3 separate regions of the Homo sapiens genome follow, and all the other regions are linked to region 1. Evidence: promoter capture Hi-C in human tissues and cell types (Jung and others, 2019). All regions are on one chromosome and are shown on one strand. The core of a region is centred on a gene start or on the middle of the fragment in contact, and the rest is flanking DNA. Distances in the headings are between cores, read along the strand shown.

Region 1 (2,815 bases), core at 142-2,641:
CCAAGTCATGTTCAGGACTGCAACTCCAAGAGCACGCATTCTCTCCCTCCCCACCCACCCCATATTTAAATCTCATATATCTGCGAGGAGAAAAGGGTTGTGGAGGTGGCCCCAATTGTGGCCACCTGCACCTTAGGCTGCAGGGAGACTAAGAAAGTCAGGCTTCGGTGTTTCCATGCCAAGGTTGCAGTCCTTCCTGGATCCATTATGCCTTTCTAGGGTAGACTAGGTCACAGAGGCAGGAGCAATCTAAGAAAATTGAAGGAGGGATATAAAACTTTATCAAACTGTCAACCCATTTAATCTCAAAGACTGACAGAGGAAGTGCAGGTGGGATGAAGCGGTGGGCTGTCCCTCCCACCACAGGCATTCGGTGCTGTGGGGATACCGCAGGTAGATGGTTGTATACTCTAATGGTTCCAGGCCTGGAGGCTAATTCTCTCTTACTAGGGTATGGGATTTCCACGTTCTGTCCTCTGAAAGGGCTAAACCTTTTTGGTCAAGGATGTCGAATCCTTTAAATGTCCTTCTATGGAAACCAGCCCTCACTCGTGGTGTTTCTATTAACTGACCACCTTCTCCTAAAATGTCTCTCCTTACACGTTCCCCAGGAACTGCAGGAATGCCTCCTCTATTTGGGGAGCTGGGTGAAATCCAGTTTACTGTATCAAGTACTGCTATTCTAAAGCACTGTTCTCTCTCTGCGGGCTTCATCCTTTTGCAGAATCAGGGAGAACCTGTCTCTTCTCTTTTAAGGTCCCTTCCCAACCCACAGAATTTTATATATAGTTTCATCAGAAGCTGTGCCAACATGCCGGCTCTCACAACCAGACCATAATATTAATTCTAGAGACTTCCTCATGTCACGTTTTATCTGAAGCTGAAGTTTGGGCATGGCTAAATCTAACACAATCCAAAGTCAGGAAATGTGTAAATTTGTGTAACTCCTTGCAAATAGTCCATCTTGCAAAACATTATACATATCATCATATATATATATATATAAATGTATAAATATATTCCTCCCTTGGAGTTGAAGCTTGTGCCCTTTCCACCTGCATTTCTGATCTAAGTTAGGTAGGGGGCTGCTCTCTGGTCAGCAAGGAAGGGAGATCAAAGGATGGAGGCGGGACTCTGCCCCTGCAGAAACCCTCCAGTTTGCTGGAGTTGCCGGATTACATTGTTCCTCCCCGGTGTGCGGCGTGAGCTTCCCCCACCCGAGCGCCCAACAAGTCTCCTTTCTCCAGCCTGCGCGCTGCTGCGCTGAGGCCGAATGAAGCGCAGCACGGTGCGGGCAGCCCGAGGCCCCGAGGCTGGGCTCTGTCTGTCTGGGACTGCGCCGTGCCCAGCCTCGGTCCCCTCTCTGTGGGTAAGGATGGTTGAGTCCAGCCTCCACGGCAGCGGCTCCTTGTGCCACTAGCAGCCCTTCTTCTGCGCTCTCCGCCTTTTCTCTCTAGACTGGATCTCTCCTCCCCCCCGCGCCCCCCTCCCCGCATCTCCCACTCGCTGGCTCTCTCTCCAGCTGCCTCCTCTCCAGGTCTCTCCTGGCTGCGCGCGCTCCTCTCCCCGCTTCTCCCCCTCCCGCAGCCTCGCCGCCTTGGTGCCTTCCTGCCCGGCTCGGCCGGCGCTCGTCCCCGGCCCCGGCCCCGCCAGCCCGGGTCTCCGCGCTCGGAGCAGCTCAGCCCTGCAGTGGCTCGGGACCCGATGCTATGAGAGGGAAGCGAGCCGGGCGCCCAGACCTTCAGGAGGCGTCGGATGCGCGGCGGGTCTTGGGACCGGGCTCTCTCTCCGGCTCGCCTTGCCCTCGGGTGATTATTTGGCTCCGCTCATAGCCCTGCCTTCCTCGGAGGAGCCATCGGTGTCGCGTGCGTGTGGAGTATCTGCAGACATGACTGCGTGGAGGAGATTCCAGTCGCTGCTCCTGCTTCTCGGGCTGCTGGTGCTGTGCGCGAGGCTCCTCACTGCAGCGAAGGGTAAGACGGACTTGCTCCTGGCCGGGGAGGCGGTAGAGCCCTCGGAGGCCCCGTGTGCGGACGCGAGTGTGCGTTTTGGGGACCGCAGGGTACGGAGTGGCCGCCTCTGCCCGGCGCTGCTCCATCGCCGAAGCTCGGGGAACGCGATGCACGGGAGGGAGCTTCCATCGCGCTCTCCCCAGCCCTCCTGGGCCCCCGCCCCACCCCGCCATTCCTTCCCCCTCTCTTGGGCTCACAGGAGAGATCTCTTTTTCTCGGCAGTACAGGGTGTCAAGGAGAAAGGAACCCAATACGAGTTGGGCTGGAACTGTGCTCCGCCGGGGCGGTGTTGCCTCCTCCGAGACGTGGACTCCACGGGTCGGGGTGGCTGAGGGGCAGTTCCCAGGACTTTCTCCCCGGACCCGACGCGCCTGGGAAAGCGTCCCGGGTGAAGCCGGCCTGGAAAGTTCGGGCTCTCTACGGGGGTTTTGGTACCAATAGGCAAAGGTCTCCGCCGGCCCGGCCTCCTCGCACCCATACACCCCATTCCTCCTCTCCTCCTTCCCTCTCCAACGTCCTCAGCCGGCGAGGAGTAGCTGCCTCTAGAAGGTCGCCCCCGCTTTCCTCTCCCCCGGACTTCGCTCCTTGCAAGTTGTAAGGTGTTGGCAAGGTGCGTGAAACAGGCTAGGAGTTCTGGACCGGCTTCCAAGTCAGATACATTCACTGTGGGCGCACGGGTATCCTCCTTCTACGCTGGTCAGGGGAAGGAGTTTCTCTGGGTGGCTCCTGGGCTTGGGGCTCTGTGAGCTTGGTTTTCTCCCTGAATGAGTTGGGGAATGTTTTCTTCTAAGTAGCCTACAGGC
Region 2 (2,815 bases), core at 127-2,626, 1.4 Mb after region 1:
AATCTCAGGTGATTCATTTTGCTTTCCTCTATGCCTCCACCGGAAATTTGTTGAAGGAAAGAAGAGAGTTAGTGTTCATTGATCTGCCCTAGAGAGAAAGTGATCTGGTTTTCCTGGGGACTCTAAACTGTGCAATTAAACACACTCCAGTTACCCCGAAGGTTCTGGTTTAATTGGTCAGGAAGATGGACCAGTCATGAAGATTTTTAAAGAGAATGTTTAATTGTGATAAAATCCACATAATATAGAATTTAGCATCCTGACCATTTTAAGTGTGCAGTTCAATGGTGTTAACACATTCATATGGTTGTATAACCATGACCACCATCCATCTCCAGAATTCTTTTTATCCTGCAAAACTGAAACTCCATACCCATAAAGCCATAACTTCCCATCCTCCCCTACCCACATCTCCCGACAGCCACCATTGTACTTCCTGTTCCTGGGAACGTGATCACTATAGACAGAATGTGCTATAACCCTCTCTCTCTCTAGGGCAGATCTGTGAACACTAACTCTCTCCTTTGCTTCAACACATTTCTGGTGAAGACGTAGGGGGAAACAGAATGAATCATTTGAGATTCTGAAGAGTTTTTAAACGAATTGGAAACATTAGGGAGCAGGGAGAATGGTCCCCAAATCAATGCACTGGTTGTTATTCAATGTTCACTGCTTTAATATTGTTCCTATAGTTGATAACTCTTCTGCATATTACCAATGATTTCACAGGCTTCCATTAGCCTTAAAGTTTGTTGACGCTGCTGAACAGAGCCATGAAAATTTTGCAGCATCTTATTCTACAGTAGATTGTGGTGACTAGTGTAGGTAACTCAATGTTAGACCTTTTATAAGTGCCTGCTGTGATTCTGATGTGCAAGCGAGGTTGGTAACCATTGGCCTGCCTGGTGTATGTCATCCGTGATATGAGATTAGAGATAGGTGACTAAATACAGATGGGCTTGCTTTTCTAAACCTGTTTGATAGCATAAACATCGTCTGATAATGTATATGGAAACCTCATCGTTGGAAAACACTTTCAGTATCTGCTGCCTTCTACAGCTCCTATATGTCTGCAGAAGCTGGAAGAATAAGGACAGCTGATTTGTTTCCCCGCAGCAAAAATCCTACCAAATCTTGGCCTCCATCAAATAATGTTCTTGGAAAAATAATAAAGATGTGAGGCCAATGAGCAGCTCCCATGAACAGGAATCCCACGGACACAATGATGCAGCACTGGTAGATCTCAGAAGCCAGAGGCAAACCTACATCTAGCAGTGATATACAGGAGTCATGGAGGTTTCTAGCATGTATGACCTGGTATCAAGCTTGCTGCCACGATATCATGCGGGATGAATGAAAAATGTCCAATCATAGCTGATTCTTGCACATAGAGATTAGTACAGAGACCCCCTTGGAATAGTTCTTTACATTTCTTGACATTGCAATCAATTCCTTCCTCTCTATCCACATTTTCAATCACATAGCAAAACCATTTTTTTATTGTATTGAAATCATTTATTTAATTAATAAAATACTGTGTTTGCAATATTGCAAAACATGCATATGAATGTTGCAAAACATGCATATGAATGTTACAAAACATTCATGGAAGAACAATGACTGCTATTTATGACTGAATCCTGTGATAGAGTGGGGATAGAGGTGGGTGCCTGGATCCCTCAGTAAAATTACCGCCCCTGCAGACTTTCGCTTTAGACCAGAGCAATGGTTTTCTGTCTCTTATCATCTGGGGTCACCAGTCGTTTTCCACTGCCACCAGCAATAATACTTGCTTGCCATCGTAGAGAATATACTGGCAAGCTGGGTGAGTAAATGGGAGCACCCTATCCCCAGGATGACATTTCATAGTCTCTGAGTGGTAGTCTTTGACACTTGGCGTCCCTTTTCCAATCAACCCTGAATGATTCTGATACACTTGACCCTTGCTGAGAACTGCTGGTTTAGAGACCTCTTAAGTTTCTGTATTCATATTCTAGGGGAAATAGAGTAGCTAGTTAGATGGTTTATCAATTTAACTAGGATCTAAAGGTAATAAATCCACCCACTCCACCCTTCAACAGCATTAAATGCCCTTTGGCACCAAATTCTAAATTTTATGAGGAATTTTACCTAAGCTTCCTATTTATACTAATGGGGAGGAGAAGGAGAAAAGGAGAAAGACAGACAGATACCTGGAAAGATTCGGGAAGCAATGGTTTGTCAGTTTTCAGCTTGCTGATGCCACCTGCAGTTATGTGTGTGTGTGTCTTAAATTAATTCCTCGCTCTCTTTACCTGCTAGACTTTTCTTAAGTGTTCAGCAAGCATTCAGAACCAGCTCTACCCTTAGTGATGAGCTGAGGAGGTGCCTCTTGTGGTGGTCATTTTCCCTGCCCTCACAATGATGCTGCCAGGAGCTTGCCATCAATGAATTGTAGAGACCGACACTTTGCTTTAAGACGTCCTGCTGTGCCGAAATGTTGCTTCCTCTGGAAGGGGAAGGTAGTCAACCATCTCACTCCATTACACTTTCTTGTGTATGAAAGAATTTGTCAGATCTGTTGCTCCCAGCAGATTTTGATGAAAGACAGGAGGAAAGAAGTGGGAGTTGCCCATGCCAAGCGGGAAGGACCACCTGGTGAAAGAAGAGAGGAGTGCAAGGTATAGGTTGGCGCCAATCTGGGCATGCAGCAGATACTCAAAGGAAAATGGAGATGTTGTTAAAGGCATAAAGCTGCAGTTACATAGGATGAATAAACCTAGGGATCTGATGTATAGCATGAAGTGGTTAATTAACAATGCTGTATTGTGATTAA
Region 3 (2,815 bases), core at 110-2,609, 1.1 Mb before region 1:
AGAAAATAAATGTTGAGACAATAAGTTTCCCACCCAAGTTGACACACTGACAGGCAGAAGAGTTGGAGATTTAAGTCTTGATGAGTCAGTCCTTAGAGCTCGAGTTTTTAAGCCCACTCTGACAAAGCAAGCCCACCCATTGTTCCCTCCACATGTAATGACATCACAGAATACAGACTTCATGGCATCACGTTGTGAGTTCTGTGTGGAGCATTTTAAGAGGAATCTGTCTGCGTACCCTAAGTGATGGAAAAGCCGCTTGTAGATTCATGGGAGTCCTGACGGGTGGCTGCACTTAGGTGAGAAATGAGTTAAATGCAATCACCCTACCAGTTGTGGGGGTCGGGGGGTGCGGGTGGTGGTGGTGGGGGGGCGCGGGGGGAGGGCGGCAAGCTCCAGGCTGGCCATGACTCACCTACATAGAGACAAGCACACACTTACAAGCCAAGAAGCGAGTTTGGCAAGTTTGGCCGAGAGCAACAAAGGGATGGAATGCTTCCAGAAGGAGCTCTCTGAAGTGCCTGAAGGGCAAGACTGAGAGTGACTGAGGGAGAGCTGCATTCAGAGCAGCTAGTGTTCAGTCTTGGAAGATGCCACGGGGTCTTTCTTTTAAATCTCTGCAGTTTCAGAAAGCAGGCTACACCTGGCACTTGTGATAGCCAGAGCAAAGGAAGCTGGTGGAGAAAGAAATGTGTCTGTAACACAGAGTTCCAAAAACAGCATTCTGCCAGCTCTCAATCCTGCCCTTTCCTGATTGTGACTTGAGAGAGAACGAAGTTGCCCTGGAGTCAGAGAAGGCGCCTTCTCTGAAAGAATGTCTCCCCCAGCTTGGCAGAGACAACGGTTGCTTTGAAACACAATCGCACCATCTCTATATTGTGATTTTTTAATTTTAGAAATGATTTACAGCCTCATTCTTCTCAGAATTTGAAAGTAGAATTCTATGAAAGCCAAAAAATTTGAATACAAGAAAACTCATTATTCCCTCTACAAATCCACTCCACCTTGTTCCTTTTCTCAGAGAATCACTGTGGCACCTACCCATTTGTCCAAGTCCGAGACCTGGGCTCTCCCACGCTCAATGCACGACATCCACTCACTTCCCGTCTTGGTGGTTCTGCCCTCAGGAGTCTGAGGCCTGTTCCCTCTTCTCTCTTCCATCTGCCACCATCTGGTTTGTATCCTCCTTGTTTTCCACCACACTTTCTACTTAGACTACCTTCTTTGTCAGAGGAATGGCCACTTGCATGAGACTTGTGAGACATATTAACTCAAATTCAAATTTTAGACGTTATGCATATACAGCGGAACCCCCCCACGAACATCCCGATAACTAACACACATGTCTGACTTGCACCGTGGCTCCTGACTTCAATTCCTTGGTTTAGGGGCAGTCAACAGTGGAGGGGAAAGCCGGGAAACGCTGCGTTTAGGCTGGATCCTGATGCCTGAGCAGGGGTTTCCTAGAGGGAGGAAAGGCGTAGTGATCCAGTACCTCTTTCATAAACTTAGTGTTAAATAGTGGACAGACTTAACCAAAGGAGGGGGAGAGAAGAGAAGAAAGAAATGAAGATGACATGCCACTGAGGCGCGTGCCATCAGACTGTGGAAGAGACTCTCGGTCCAAATGCATGTTTCCTGAACTTCAGCCTGCCTCCAGAGAAAACCCACAGGATTTTAAAAAGAGAGGGGCGAAACTGCCGGGCAACTTTATGAGCTTTATGGGTATGCTAACAAAGAAATGCTCCTCCAAAACACCCAGCGCCTGGCTGGTAGGAGCACTGCTGGGATCAGTCATTCATGCCTTATTTATTACACACCTTGTTGTGTGAAGCAGCTCCATTTGGGGCCATCTAGTCCTGTTTTAAAGCCACTCTTGATTTAAAGCCAAACCATTTCATTGAAAGAGCTTCTATTCTAACGAAGACATACTGGTTATGTGTGTCTTGAATCTTTCAAAGGAAGAGTGATGCAATACCGGGGGTCTGCTGTTTTAGCAGAGGCAGTGTTTCTCATGGAGATCTTCCTCACAGCAGCCCCTTCTATCAGGCACTGCATTTGCATTTTAGAACAATTTTCCCCCCTGATTACCAGCTTGAACTGAGTGAGGAAAAGGGAGGATGAAAGAATGCAACCGAATGCCCCTGCCAAACCCAGCCACCTGTTAATGAAGCTCAGCTCCTCCCCTCTTCCCTTCTCATTTCATGGAAATGGAGAGTGCAGGACTGAGATTTATGCATTGGGAATGAAGCAGGAGGGTTTTTCCAAGCGCTGGCCAGAACGCTGAAATCAAACCTGTTTCAGTGAAAAGTGCATTGTTGCTCTTGTTTAAGAGGCATTCACAGGCAATAAGCAAATCACCTCAGGATGAATACATTTGGTTCCTGATTCTGAATCTGTGGAAAGATTGTTAAAATATAAAGCAATATACACCAGTTACTGACCCACTGGGAAATTCTGTAGCTCCATAAAGCACGTTAAAACATTGTAGTTATTTCAGTAAGTCTGTGTTTGCAGGCTGAGATGCTACGGAATCGGGCAGGGAAGGAGAATGCCTTGCAATTAGATGAATTTGCCAAGAGATTTTAAGTGGCATGAAATGCCTGGTATCAGCCTCTGGGAATCAGCGTAACATTCTTCCCTGTTGGAGTTTATTCCACTAGGATGTTATCATCGGTGCCCTAGCAGGACTCCCAGAACCCTTGGGAAGTATTTTTGGATGCAACATTACTGGAGGTCATTTTAACAGAAAAGTGAAAGCTTTTCTTTGCTGGGGCCAATCCAAACATAAACAGTTCAGGCAATTTTGGTTTTC

The links. The method cuts DNA at HindIII sites, captures the fragments that hold promoters and counts their contacts. A contact is called where the count stands out against the background at its distance.
Region 2: a contact is called between a fragment that was not itself captured here and the fragment with the promoter of CSMD1 in region 1, in 1 of the 25 tissues and cell types used here (dorsolateral prefrontal cortex).
Region 3: a contact is called between a fragment that was not itself captured here and the fragment with the promoter of CSMD1 in region 1, in 1 of the 25 tissues and cell types used here (dorsolateral prefrontal cortex).

What each region holds. Positions count from the first base shown.
Region 1 is chr8:4,993,490-4,996,304 of GRCh38, reverse strand. It overlaps CSMD1 (CUB and Sushi multiple domains 1), which reads left to right and starts at 1,391. Exons shown (of 70, transcript NM_033225.6): 1 at 1,391-1,973. The coding sequence starts at 1,889. The HindIII fragment of the contact is 12,651 bases long and covers 1-2,815 here.
Region 2 is chr8:3,599,579-3,602,393 of GRCh38, reverse strand. All of the region lies in intron 8 of CSMD1 (CUB and Sushi multiple domains 1), which reads left to right. Among named protein-coding and RNA genes, the nearest start is that of LINC03021, 870 kb to the right of the region's middle. The HindIII fragment of the contact is 6,155 bases long and covers 1-2,815 here.
Region 3 is chr8:6,134,106-6,136,920 of GRCh38, reverse strand. No RefSeq gene overlaps it. Among named protein-coding and RNA genes, the nearest start is that of MCPH1-DT, 270 kb to the left of the region's middle. The HindIII fragment of the contact is 5,310 bases long and covers 1-2,815 here.